Linked DNA regions of Homo sapiens: regions 1 and 3 are each linked to region 2. The links are contacts of gene promoters, found by promoter capture Hi-C in blood cells and fetal thymus (Javierre and others, 2016). All regions are on one chromosome and are shown on one strand. The core of a region is centred on a gene start or on the middle of the fragment in contact, and the rest is flanking DNA. Distances in the headings are between cores, read along the strand shown.

Region 1 (3,751 bases), core at 5-2,504, 350 kb after region 2:
GAGGCCAGGAGTTTGAGAGCAGCCTGGGCAACATAGGGAGGCCCTGCCTCTATTTAAATAAATATGTTTTTAAAGTACTTAGTCTTCAAACCTTGTTTTATTTTTGTCCTCTATTCAAACCAGTACCTGAATTTAGACAACATTACAGAAATGTTGTGATTAGGCCATTTGTATTTTGAAACCCGAAATTTAAAGAAAAAAAAAAAGAAAAGAAAAGAAGTGTTCAAGTTTATCTCAGTCAGAGAGAGACTGTGTTTGTGTGAGATAAGGCGAAGTGGGGTAGAAGGGCCTTCCAGGATTAAGTCCACGAGGAAGGTGACGGTTTGGGAGAATCTGAAGTTTCAAATAAGGAGTTGTCGGTTGGGATCAAACTGTGGGGATCCAAGAATGCCAGGCTAAGAAACCAGGATATTTTATTTTCTGATAAAAAGAGGATGCTTTTTTGGCAAATTTCTGCTTCGGAGTGAAGATGCTGCACTAGATGGGAAGGAGAAGAGGAGAAATGGAAAGAAGAAAAGGTGAGTTCCAAGGACAGAAACACTCCCTCTTTGGACTCCCCCCAATTTCATGGACTCTCTCCCGCAAAAAAACACACAAGAACTTCCTGCCTTGTTTCCTTGTTTTGTGACATCATTGCAATCTCTTGATTTTTTTCATCCCTCGGATTCCTTAGCATCCTTCAAAAGTAATGTTCCTGCAGTCTCGCAGAAGGCCGAAGGATGGAGAATTTCTAGTCCAGGCCAGGGACACTCAGAAGAGAGAAAAAAAAAAGAACAAAAAAAGACCCAAGCAGCTTCACAGGGCCTCATCTGGTCCAATTTCTTCTCATGATGCATTCATTCACTCATAAATATCTTTTGAGCACCTACTATGTGTTGGGTAGATCTAGGGATAAAATCAGGGTTAAAAATACAGTCGCTGGTCTCACAGCAAAAAAGGCACCTGAGGCCCAGAGAGGGCCACTGACTTGCCAAAAGTCACAAGCTAAAACTTCTGTGGCCGAACCGCGTCTCGAACACAACTGGCGGAGGCCCACGGCGCCTGCAGCCCAGCTGCAGAATGCTACAAAGCAACGGGGGCCGGTGCCGGGGCGTCCGAAGCAGCGCCGAGGCCGGAGAGAGCGACAGTCAGTTTCCTAACTGCGCGGCGGACGCCGAGGCCGGCGCCTGTTCTTGAAAGATGTCCCTCTGCAGCCGCGGTAGCCCAGCCGGAAGTGCCGCCTGCCACGTCCACCGTGCGGCAGGGGCGGGGCTGGGATCCAAAAGCTCGGCATGGCTGACGACGCGGGTTTGGAGACCCCGCTGTGTTCCGAGCAGTTCGGCTCCGGGGAGGCACGGGGCTGCCGCGCCGCCGCGGACGGGAGCCTGCAGTGGGAGGTCGGGGGCTGGCGCTGGTGGGGGCTCTCCAGGGCCTTCACGGTCAAACCTGAAGGACGAGATGCGGGCGAAGTGGGGGCTTCCGGGGCCCCCTCACCGCCCCTCTCCGGGCTCCAGGCCGTGTTCCTGCCTCAGGGCTTCCCTGATAGCGTCAGCCCGGACTACTTGCCCTACCAGCTGTGGGATTCCGTGCAGGTCAGCTCGGTCGTCTGGGGCAGAGGACAGTGCAGGCCACTCCTCCCTCCCCAATAATGGACGGGTGACTGAGACTCGGAGCCCGGGGGGCGGGGGGTCTGACATGCCTCATACACCAAGAACAAGAACAGATGAAGGCACTTAGACCGCCACGCTCCTACGCCCGCTTCTCACCCTACTTGTTTTCTTCTCCAGGCGTTTGCTTCCAGCCTCTCCGGCTCCCTAGCCACCCAGGCAGTCTTGCTGGGCATAGGGGTGGGGAACGCAAAAGCCACTGTTTCAGCTGCCACGGCCACCTGGCTCGTGAAAGGTGAGCTGCACCCCTGGAGCCTCACGTATTGCTGCTTTCAGCCCTGCTTTCGCTGGGCTCTTATGTGTATATATGTATGGACTCGTGCCCCATTAGGTAGAATTCAGGCAGGTCTCCCCAGTGATTAGAGTGGTGCTTTGTAACCCAGTCTTACTTCCCACATCTGGAAGACCCTCATCCCACTCACCAGCCTAGCAGCCGCACTCCATTCCCCACACAGACTTCTGAGTCTCAATCATCTGGATCCCAAATCCCGTCCCCTCCCCTTTATCCCTATTCTCTTTGTGGAAGATTGCATAAGAATGCAATTGATGGAATAAAACTGCCAGCTGCCCAGGATAGGGGAAATTGGTGAGCTCCAGAAAAAAAAGATATAGTTGGTCCTGAGAAGGAGAGAGGAGAGCCTGGAAAGAATGGAAGGTATTGTGTATGCTCTGGGATACCAGATGATGCTGTAAATAATAGAGTGACTATCTGCTGAATATGTACAGCTTTTAAAAAATTGTTTAAGGAAAAAAAATACAGTTTGGTACCATGCCACCCAGAGAGGGAAATAGAACAGAAAAGGGAAATTGTTACATGTTCTACACGAGGAGGCCCCATGGCTTTTGCCACTGTCCTTTGTCTTTCACTACTGCTCGCAGGGGATATTTATTAGGCTGGTGCAAAAGTAATTGCGGGGTTTCTTTGTCGTTATTGCCATTAAAGGTAATGGAAAACCCGCAATTACATTTGAGCCAACCTAATAGATCTAAGGAAAAGCGCTTTCCATTCGTAGCATCAGTCTGGCCACATCCCTTGTGAGCCTCTCTGGATTTTTTTGAGAAAACAGGAGCTTCCTGTTTACACCTTTACCATTAAGACTGAGAAAACTGGGCCGGGCACGGTGGCTCACGCCTTTAATCCTCGTACTTTGGGAGGCTGAGGCATCCTGGGCAACATAGGGAGACCCCCATCTCTATTTTTTTTTTTCCAGACTCGTAGTCTCACTGTCACCCAGGCTGGGATGCAGGAGTGCAGTGGCACAATCTCAGCTCACTGCAGCCTCCTCCTCCCGGGTTCAAGCGATTCTCCTGCCTCAGCTTCCCAAGTAGCTGGGATTACAGGCATGTGCCACCCTGCCCCGCTAATTTTTTGTATTTTTAGTAGAGACAGAGTTTCACCATGTTGGCCAGGCTGGTCTCGAACTCCTGACTTCGGGTGATCCATTCGCCTCAGCTTCCCAAAGTGCTGGGATTATAGGCGTGAGCCACTGCGCCCGGCTTGTTGGCCGTATTTTTGGAATGCATTTGGAGCTTGGGTCAGTAGTTTTTGTTTTCATGTGATGTCACCAACATGTTGCCTATACAGATTGAATATCCCTTATCCAAAATGCTTGCAACCAGAAGTGTTTTGGATTTTGGAATTTTTTTTGGATTTTGGAATATCTTCATGTATATAATGAGATTTGTTGGGGATCAGACTCAAGTCTAAACATGAAATTCGTTTATGTTTCATATATACTTTATACACATACCTTAAAGGCAGTTTTATACAGTATTTTCAATGGTGTGCATGAAACAAAGTTTGTGTTCATTGATCCATCAGAAAGCAAAGATGTCACTGTCTCAGCCACACGTGGACAATCTGGTTGGTTAGCGTCCCCATCGTTCCTGACTCTGAATGTATATGCTACCAAGAAGCAGTCATTTTCTTATACCTATTCACACAGAAGTACTTAACAGTATAAAACATGATATACCACTAATACAGTGAGAAATTGTGTGTTCAGGGTAACTAAGCAGCACAGCAGATCACCAGAACACCTGTATCAGCTTCTGAACCATAGCAGCAGCAACAAAAACGGCAGGCTGTCAGTCTTCAGCTGTTT
Region 2 (3,990 bases), core at 1,203-3,702:
TGTATTAACCCAATGGTTGTTCTGGAGCATGTCATTTAATTTTCATGTATTTGTACAGTTTTCAAAGTTCCTTTTGCTACTGATTTTTGGCTTTATTTCACTGTAGTATGAGAAAATACTTGATATGATTTCAATTTTTAAACATTTGTTAAGACTCGTTTTCTGGCCTAACAGAGGGTCTATCCTGAAGACTGTTCCATGTGCTTCTGAGAAGAATGTATGTTTTGCAGTCATTGGATCAAGTGTTCTGCAGATGTCTGTTAGGTTCCTTTGGTCTAAAGCAACGGTGCCTAACCTTTTTGGCACCAGGAACTGGTTTCGTGGAAGACAATTTTTCCTAGGACTAGGGGAGGGGGATGATTTCAGGATAATTTAAGTGCATTACATTTATCATTAGATTCTCATAAGGAGCATACAGCCTGGATCACTGGCATGTGCAGTTCACAATAGGGTTTGAGCTCCTATGACAATCTAATGCTGCTGCTGATCTGACAGGAGGTAGAGCTCAGCTTCACTGGCTCACCTGCCACTCACCTCCTGCTGAGCTTCCTGGTTCCTAACAAGCCAGGGGTGGGTATTGGTCTGTGACCCGACGGTTGGGGACCCCTGGTCTAAAGTACAGTTTAAATCTGATGTTTCATTATTGATTTTCTGTCTAGGTAATCTTCCAGGGCTTGTCTAGTGGTGATGAATTTCTTCAGTTTTTGCTTGTCTGGGAACGTCTTTATTTCTCCTTCATTATGAGGTATAACCTTGCTTAGGCTGTGTTTGCTAGTTGAGGCTGTGGTGAGGTTTTGGTAGGAATGGAACACCAGATAGGCCAGTCCTTCAGCCCCCATGGTGACAGTGGCAGCAGTAAAGGGTTGAGGGTGTCTGTCCTTGGGCTGCTGGGTAGTGTATGTGGGCACTGGTGTTAGTGTGCCTAAGCCTGTTGATTCTCAGGCCTTCAGGAGGCTTGCTCTGATGTCTGTAGTAACAGCAGTGGGCTAGGAAATGGGGCAAGTCCTCAGGCCTCTGAGCAGTGTGTACCGTGTGGATGAGGAGAGTAGTGGGGTTGAGGCAACTTCAGGCTTCCAGGCAGCACTCACAGTGTTTGTGGTGGCTGCAATGGGCTGAATCAGACAGTCCCTAGAGCCTTAGGTGACACATGAGTGTGGATGCTGGTGGTTGTCTGGGTGGGCCCATCCTTAGGACCCCAAGAGTACCCAGATGACAGCAGTGGTGGATGGCATGGGAGATTCCTAGACCTTTAGACAGCATGCTTGAGTGCTGGCTGCACATTTTCTTGGCCTGTTTTTAGGACCCTGGTGGACTCATGCCAGAGGCTACCACCTGTACAATGCTGTCCTCAGGTCCACAAGTGGAATATTTGACCACTAAGGGTGGGAGAGAGGCAGGTGAGGTGGGCCTGTTCTCAAGTCCTCCTAGTGATGCACATGAGCATAGGCTGTGGGCAGGGCAGGGGAAGTCCCAGACCTCTGGAGCTCATGCTAGGGCACCAGTGATGGCAGGCCTTCTGGAGCTGTTATTAGGCCCCTGGGAGATGGGTGCACCAAAATCTCAGAAATCGCCACTAAAGAATTTATTCATGTGCAAATAAATAAATAAATAAATAAATTCACTTACACTGTCTTATAATTATGTAATTAGTTTTGCTAGTGTGTGCTTTGTCTTTCTTATGCATTCAAATTATTGTCTGGATTTACTTGCTTTCAGCCTGAAAAACTTCTTTTGCCATTTTTTCATAAGGTCAGTTGGCTAGCAACAAATTGTATCAGTTTTTATTTACATAAAATGTTTTTATTTAACCTTCATTTTTAATAGCTAGTTTTTGTGGGTATAGGGTTCTTATTAGGCAGGCTTTTTCTGTGAGCATCAGACAAAATAATTTATAAAGAAGTAATTGAAAAGCTTCAGAGAAGGAAAATAAATCAAGACCTAAGGACACTGACTGGATTGAGCACCAACGTCATAGTGATGGCAGCTGGGTTTAAGATGACAGGGAGAATTGTCACTGAAGACAGTAGAAGTCTGGGGATCAAGTGGTCCTGACTGCAGCTGAATGGAAAGTTTATTTTGTATTTTATTTTATTTTAATTTTTGAGACAGAATCTCGCTCTGTTGCCCAGCCTAGAGTGCAGTGGCCCGATCTCAGCTCACTGCAACCTCTGCCTCCTGGGTTTGAGTGATTCTTCTGCCTCAGCTTCCTGAATAGCTGGGATTCCAGGTGCCTGCCATGATGCCTGGCTAATTTCCGTGTTTTTAGTAGAGACGGGGTTTCACCGTATTGGCCAGCTGGTCTCAAACTCCTGACCTGAAGTGATCCGCCTGCCTTGGCCTCCCAAAGGGCTGGGATTGCAGGCATGAGCCACCGTGCCCGGCCTGGAGAGTTTATTTGTTAGAGCCTCAGATATGGCACATGAGAGGTACACCAGCATGAACTCAAACATATTCAGAACTGGTGCCTTGGGGGAAAATCTATAGATTAAGTGCATGAGAAGTCACCACTTCAGTATCAGATGATGTTTGATTAAGAAAGTGTAACTCCAAATGTGGCAATCATGATCAAGGTTAAAGTTAGCACTAGTTATAACATAGGTGTGGTTGGTGGTGTCTCAGAAGCAAATAAAAGTTGTCAGTTGCTAAGAATGTGTTAATCATTTTATTCCACATGCTCTCATGCTGACTGTGTAGTTAAACATCCCTGTAAGTAGAAACAACTTCACTGTAAGCGCTATGTAAGCCTGGTGCAGGGGGCATTTTCTTCATTCCCAAAAAAGTTTTACATAGACTACCTGTAATATTGAAACGTAGGGACAACTGGGGACCATGTGTGAAGGCCCCCAGAAATTTCTTCAGTTAGCAAGGATGTTTGGTAAAGCAACACAGAAATTAAACAAAGTTTGAAACTATAGTTATTGCTTCTACTTTATTGGCAATAACTGAGACCAGACAACCCTCCTGGGCAAAATTACCTAAGAAAACAAGCTTGCACACGTTAAAGTTTGAAACCCATCTGTCCTACACTGATCTTTTCCAGGAATTAAATGTGTTCAGTTTTTCCTTTTGTTGCTCCCCTTTCCAATAATCTCGAGGCCAGGGCTGTCCTGCTTCTACAGGTGACATGACAGTTATGGGCCTGGAGGGAGACGAGCTGACAGTATCCCTTCTTTATAACCAAGTCTCAGGGACCACCATCCACACACACAGACTCACTCCAGGACTCCGCTGGGCAAATGGATGTTTCTCAGCTTTAGTAAAAGTGAGTGATCACGACTTACGTTGGTAGTGGCAGGAGGATTTTCTCAATGATGTAGATAACTCTCTCATAATTTTGTTCTTGTGTCTCACTGAATTATAACTATTTTCAGATAAAAATATAAATTTTAATATCATGAGCACATAAATTTACAGATGTTCGAAAGGATATTTGTAATTTTGTAATGGTATATGTTATAGGTAAGACGTTTATTTAGAAACAGAATGCTTGTTTTTCGGTCATGTAAGGAAAAATTAGCATTTAGACAAAAAGGTTTTTTTAGCAAGGAAATTTTACTTTCTGCAGAAAGGGTGCTCCTTGCAGATGGAACAATGGCAAGAGCACATTTGAACAAGGGAGGGAAGCAATTTTTATTTTTTATGTAGCTTGTCCCTGCTCTTGTGTCCTGTTTTTATTGGCTGGAGACAGACTTCATAATTTAAATTAAAACCTGATTGGCTAATAACTTAAAATTTTTTAAACAGGTAAAAGCAATGGAAAGATAAATGAAAAGAGGAAGTTGTTTATGAAAGGACTTAGAAAAGTAATAACATTCCTAAATAAGGAAGTGACAGGCTGTGAGCTGGGACATGCCTGTGAGCACATCCAGGACAGGTATTTCCGTTAAGGCACAAGGACATAGAATGTACTATGTGCCTGTGAGCATGTTTAACAGCTACATAGGATAGGGCTTAAACAAAGAGTTATTAGCACAAAGTAAGGAGGCTTGA
Region 3 (3,548 bases), core at 649-3,148, 460 kb after region 2:
TTCTCCTGCCTCAGCCTCCCAAGTAGCTGGGATTACAGATGCCTGCCACCATGCCCGGCTAATTTTTTTTGCATTTTTAGTAGAGATGGGGTTTTGCTGTGTTGGCCAAACTGGTCTCAAACTCCTGGCCTCAGATGATCTGCCCGCCTCAGCCTCCCAAAGCGTTGGGATTATAGGCGTGAGCCATGGTGCCCAGCCCTGCCATCATTCTTTACTTGCAAAACACAAATGCACAGATAAAATTTTTAAGAATTGGCAAGACAGGGTGGCTCACACCTGTAATCCCAGCACTTTGGGAGGCCAAGGCAGGAGGATTGCTTGAGCCCAGGAGTTCAGCCAGTCTGGACAACATAGCAAGACTCCATCTCTGTAAAAAGTAAAACAAAACAAAACAAAAAACAGGCATGATGGCATGCACCTGTGGTCCCAGCTATTCAGGAGGCTGAGGTGAGAGGATCACTTGTGCCCGAGAGTTTGAGGCTGCAGTAAGCTGTGATTGCACCACTGCACTCCAGCCTGGGTAACAGAGCTGGAGTAAAAATAAAAATAAAAATAATCAGGAATTTCAAGAGGTCAAGGGCAGAACATTAAACTCCAAAGTTAATGAGTGTGGGCCCTGTGTGACCATACTGGCCCCAAGAAGTGGGCCCTGCCTGGGAGGCAGGTTCAAGGCTTCCCTCCCGAGGTAAGGTAGGGTCTTGTCTAGAGTTTTGTGGCCTTTCCTGGGATTGAGAATAATAGGTGCTGATGTCAGGGCCTCCAAGGAGCCAAGGGAAGACTTCTCACCCCTGCTGGCCTTCCTCCAGGACACCTCCCTGGGGTAACCCACGTGTACCCATCCACAGGACTTGATGTAGTGGAGGTTGGGGAAGGAGGGTGAGTGGGGCCTACCGAGATCCACCGAACTGCACCACGCTCTGCCCAAAGCCGCCTGCATCCTCCTGGAAGATCGTAGGCTCCTCCACATCCAGGTTGAATCCATGATAAGAAGCCAGGACTGAGGAATATTTGGTGGGCGGGGAGGCTGGGAGTTAAAGAAGCCCCAATCCCTAGGACCTCCCAGCCTCTTTTTCTTTTTTTTCTTTTTTTTTTTTTTTTTTTTGAGATGGAGTCTCGCTCTGTTGCTGAGGCTGGAGTGCAACGGCACGATCTCAGCTCACTGCAACTTCCGTCTCCTGGGTTCAAGCGATTCTCTTGCCTCAGCTTCCCAAGTAGCTGGGATTACAAGTGCACGCCACCATGCCCGGCTAATTTTTATATTTTTGGTAAAGATGGGGTTTCACCATGTTGGCCAGGCTGGTCACAAACTCCTGACCTCAGGGGATACGCCCATCTCGGCCTCCCAAAGTGCTGGGATTATAAGCATGAGCCACCGCACCCAGCCAAGCCTGATTTTTGATGGCACGTGAATGTGACTCTGATGCAGTTTTCAGCAGGGGGCCTCTTCCCTACGTGCAGTCAGGACTTGGGGGAAACAGGCCCAGGGAGGTGATGTCCAACCTTTCCCCCTCCCTGGTGGCTTCTGTGGCCTTCCACTCCCGGGGGAGGCTGGGGAGACCTCTGTCACCCACACCAGGGACTCCATGAGTGGGAGCAGGGAAGCCTGGGACAACATAGCCAGCTGGAGAGGTAGCTTAGTCGCCACCTGAGCACAGCCCCTGAGCCCCTCTTCATTCAGGTCACACTCTACTGACTCCGGGCCACTCGCACATGAAGCACTCCCCTGCCTCAGCTCCTCATAAGAGTGGTTGGAGCCGACCACCAGCCCCCAGCCTGCCCTCCCAGATGGAGTCCCCTCAGAACTCCTCCAAGCTTCTCCCCAGCACCCTGGCCCCACTTACCACTCAGAAGAAGCACAGTGCCGAAGGTCATCCCTGAGCAGCGCGTTGAGGGGAAGTGGAAGGTTGGGGACAGAGCACAGAAGGTGCTCACCCTCCCAGGGGGTAGTTAAAATAATGATTCAGGGCCTCCACACAGCAGGAAGAGGGGCACAGTGGGTAGGAGGGGCGTGGTTAATTATGGAACAGAAGTGGGGGCAGGGGCCAACAACACCCTGGGGAAAAACCCTCATTCTGTCCCCCTCCACAACCTGCAGGGACCTGGCTTCCTTCTCCCAGAAGACCACCCTCCCCCAGGCCTCAGGAGCCAGTTGGTACCCAGGGAGCCCCGTAGCTCTCTGAGGTCCCACAGGAGTGGAAGGACAGGAAGCAGAATGGCTGCAGAGGTCTTGGCATGTGGATGTGAGCCGGCAGAGAGGCAGGGAGAAGGGGAGCTAGGCCAGGGTGTGGTTTCAAAAAGCAGAGCCCCTCCAGAGGAGAATGGACACCCAAAATAATAAAGTCATGCCATGGGCTACTACTCAGCAAGAAATAAGATCAAACTACAGATCAGATGCCATGGCTCATGCCTGTGGTCCCAGAGCTTGGCAGGTGGATTGCTTGAGGCCAACAGTTCGAGACCAGCCTAGGCAACATAGCCAGACCCTGTCTTTACAATAAATAACAAAGAACAAACTGCAGTTCTGTACAACAATACAGGTTAACTCAATTTTATCTTAAGTGAAAGAAACCAGACACCAGAATGCCTAATGTCTGGTTCCTTTCATATACAAGAGAATGGGCAAAATTCATCTACGAAGATAGAAATCAGAAGAGTGGTTGTCTATGGTGGGGCAGAGAGGAAACTTTTTTTTTTTTTGACAAGTTTTGCTATGTCGCCCATGCTGGAATGCAGTGGCATGATCAGGGCTCACTGCAGCCTCAAATTCCCAGACTCAAGCAATTCTCCCACCTCAGCCTCCCAGTCACTGGGATTACTGATGCACACCACCATGCCCAGCTAATTTTTTTGTTTTTTGTAGAGACGAGATCGCACTATGTTGCCCATGCTGGTCTCGAGCTCCTGGACTCAAGCAATCCTCCCACCTCCTCCTCCCAAAGTACTGGGATTACAGGCGTGAGCCACCACATCCAGCCAGGAACCTTTAGCATGTGTTAAATTTAGCATTTAACACAATATTTTAATATTTATTACATGGGGTTGGGGAGAAGATAAATGAGTGGTTGTTATTTATTTTCTGTGATTTTTCTGTATGTTTGAAATATTCCATGATTAAACATAAAAGTTCCTTTAAAATGTGAAAAAGAAAAAGGTCTATATATAAAAGGCTAGGAATAGGCCAGGCGCAGTGGCTCACACCTATAATCCCAGCACTTTGAGAGGCTGAGGTGGATGGATCACCTGAGGTCAGGAGTTTGAGACCAGCTCTGGCCAATATGGTGAAACCCCGTCTCTACTAAAAATACAAAAATTAGCTGGGCATGGTGGTGCGCACCTGTAATCCCAGCTACTCAGGAGGCTGAGGCAGGAGAATCGCTTGAACCCAGGAGGTAGAGTTTGCAGTGAGTCAAGATTGCGCCACTGCACTCCAGCCTGGGCGACAGAGCAAGACTGTCTCAATAAATAAAAAATAAAAAATAAATAAAAAGCTTAGGAATATACTTTGAAGGTTAAAATATAACAAGATCCCTACCTATAACATAAATTAT

Evidence for each region. The method cuts DNA at HindIII sites, captures the fragments that hold promoters and counts their contacts. A CHiCAGO score of 5 or more calls a contact.
Region 1: a contact is called between the fragment with the promoter of RUSF1 here and a fragment that was not itself captured in region 2, in 6 of 17 cell types (M0 macrophages, neutrophils, M2 macrophages and 3 more). The highest score is 7.5, in M0 macrophages.
Region 3: a contact is called between the fragment with the promoter of ITGAD here and a fragment that was not itself captured in region 2, in 1 of 17 cell types (erythroblasts). The highest score is 5.7, in erythroblasts.

Annotation. Positions count from the first base shown.
Region 1 is chr16:31,505,894-31,509,644 of GRCh38, reverse strand. RUSF1 (RUS family member 1) reads left to right here and starts at 1,254. Exons shown (of 13, transcript NM_022744.4): 1 at 1,254-1,571; 2 at 1,767-1,881. The coding sequence starts at 1,272. It overlaps RUSF1-DT (RUSF1 divergent transcript), which reads right to left and starts at 1,181. Exons shown (of 2, transcript NR_186401.1): 1 at 609-1,181; 2 at 79-472. RefSeq lists enhancers at 704-1,273, 838-1,552, 1,553-2,268 and silencers at 1,374-1,423, 1,484-1,543. The HindIII fragment of the contact is 29,640 bases long and covers 1-3,751 here.
Region 2 is chr16:31,852,121-31,856,110 of GRCh38, reverse strand. No RefSeq gene overlaps it. Among named protein-coding and RNA genes, the nearest start is that of ZNF267, 20 kb to the left of the region's middle. The HindIII fragment of the contact is 1,077 bases long and covers 1,914-2,990 here.
Region 3 is chr16:31,391,685-31,395,232 of GRCh38, reverse strand. It overlaps ITGAD (integrin subunit alpha D), which reads right to left and starts at 1,898. Exons shown (of 30, transcript NM_005353.3): 1 at 1,842-1,898; 2 at 892-997. The coding sequence starts at 1,872. The HindIII fragment of the contact is 1,676 bases long and covers 1,815-3,490 here.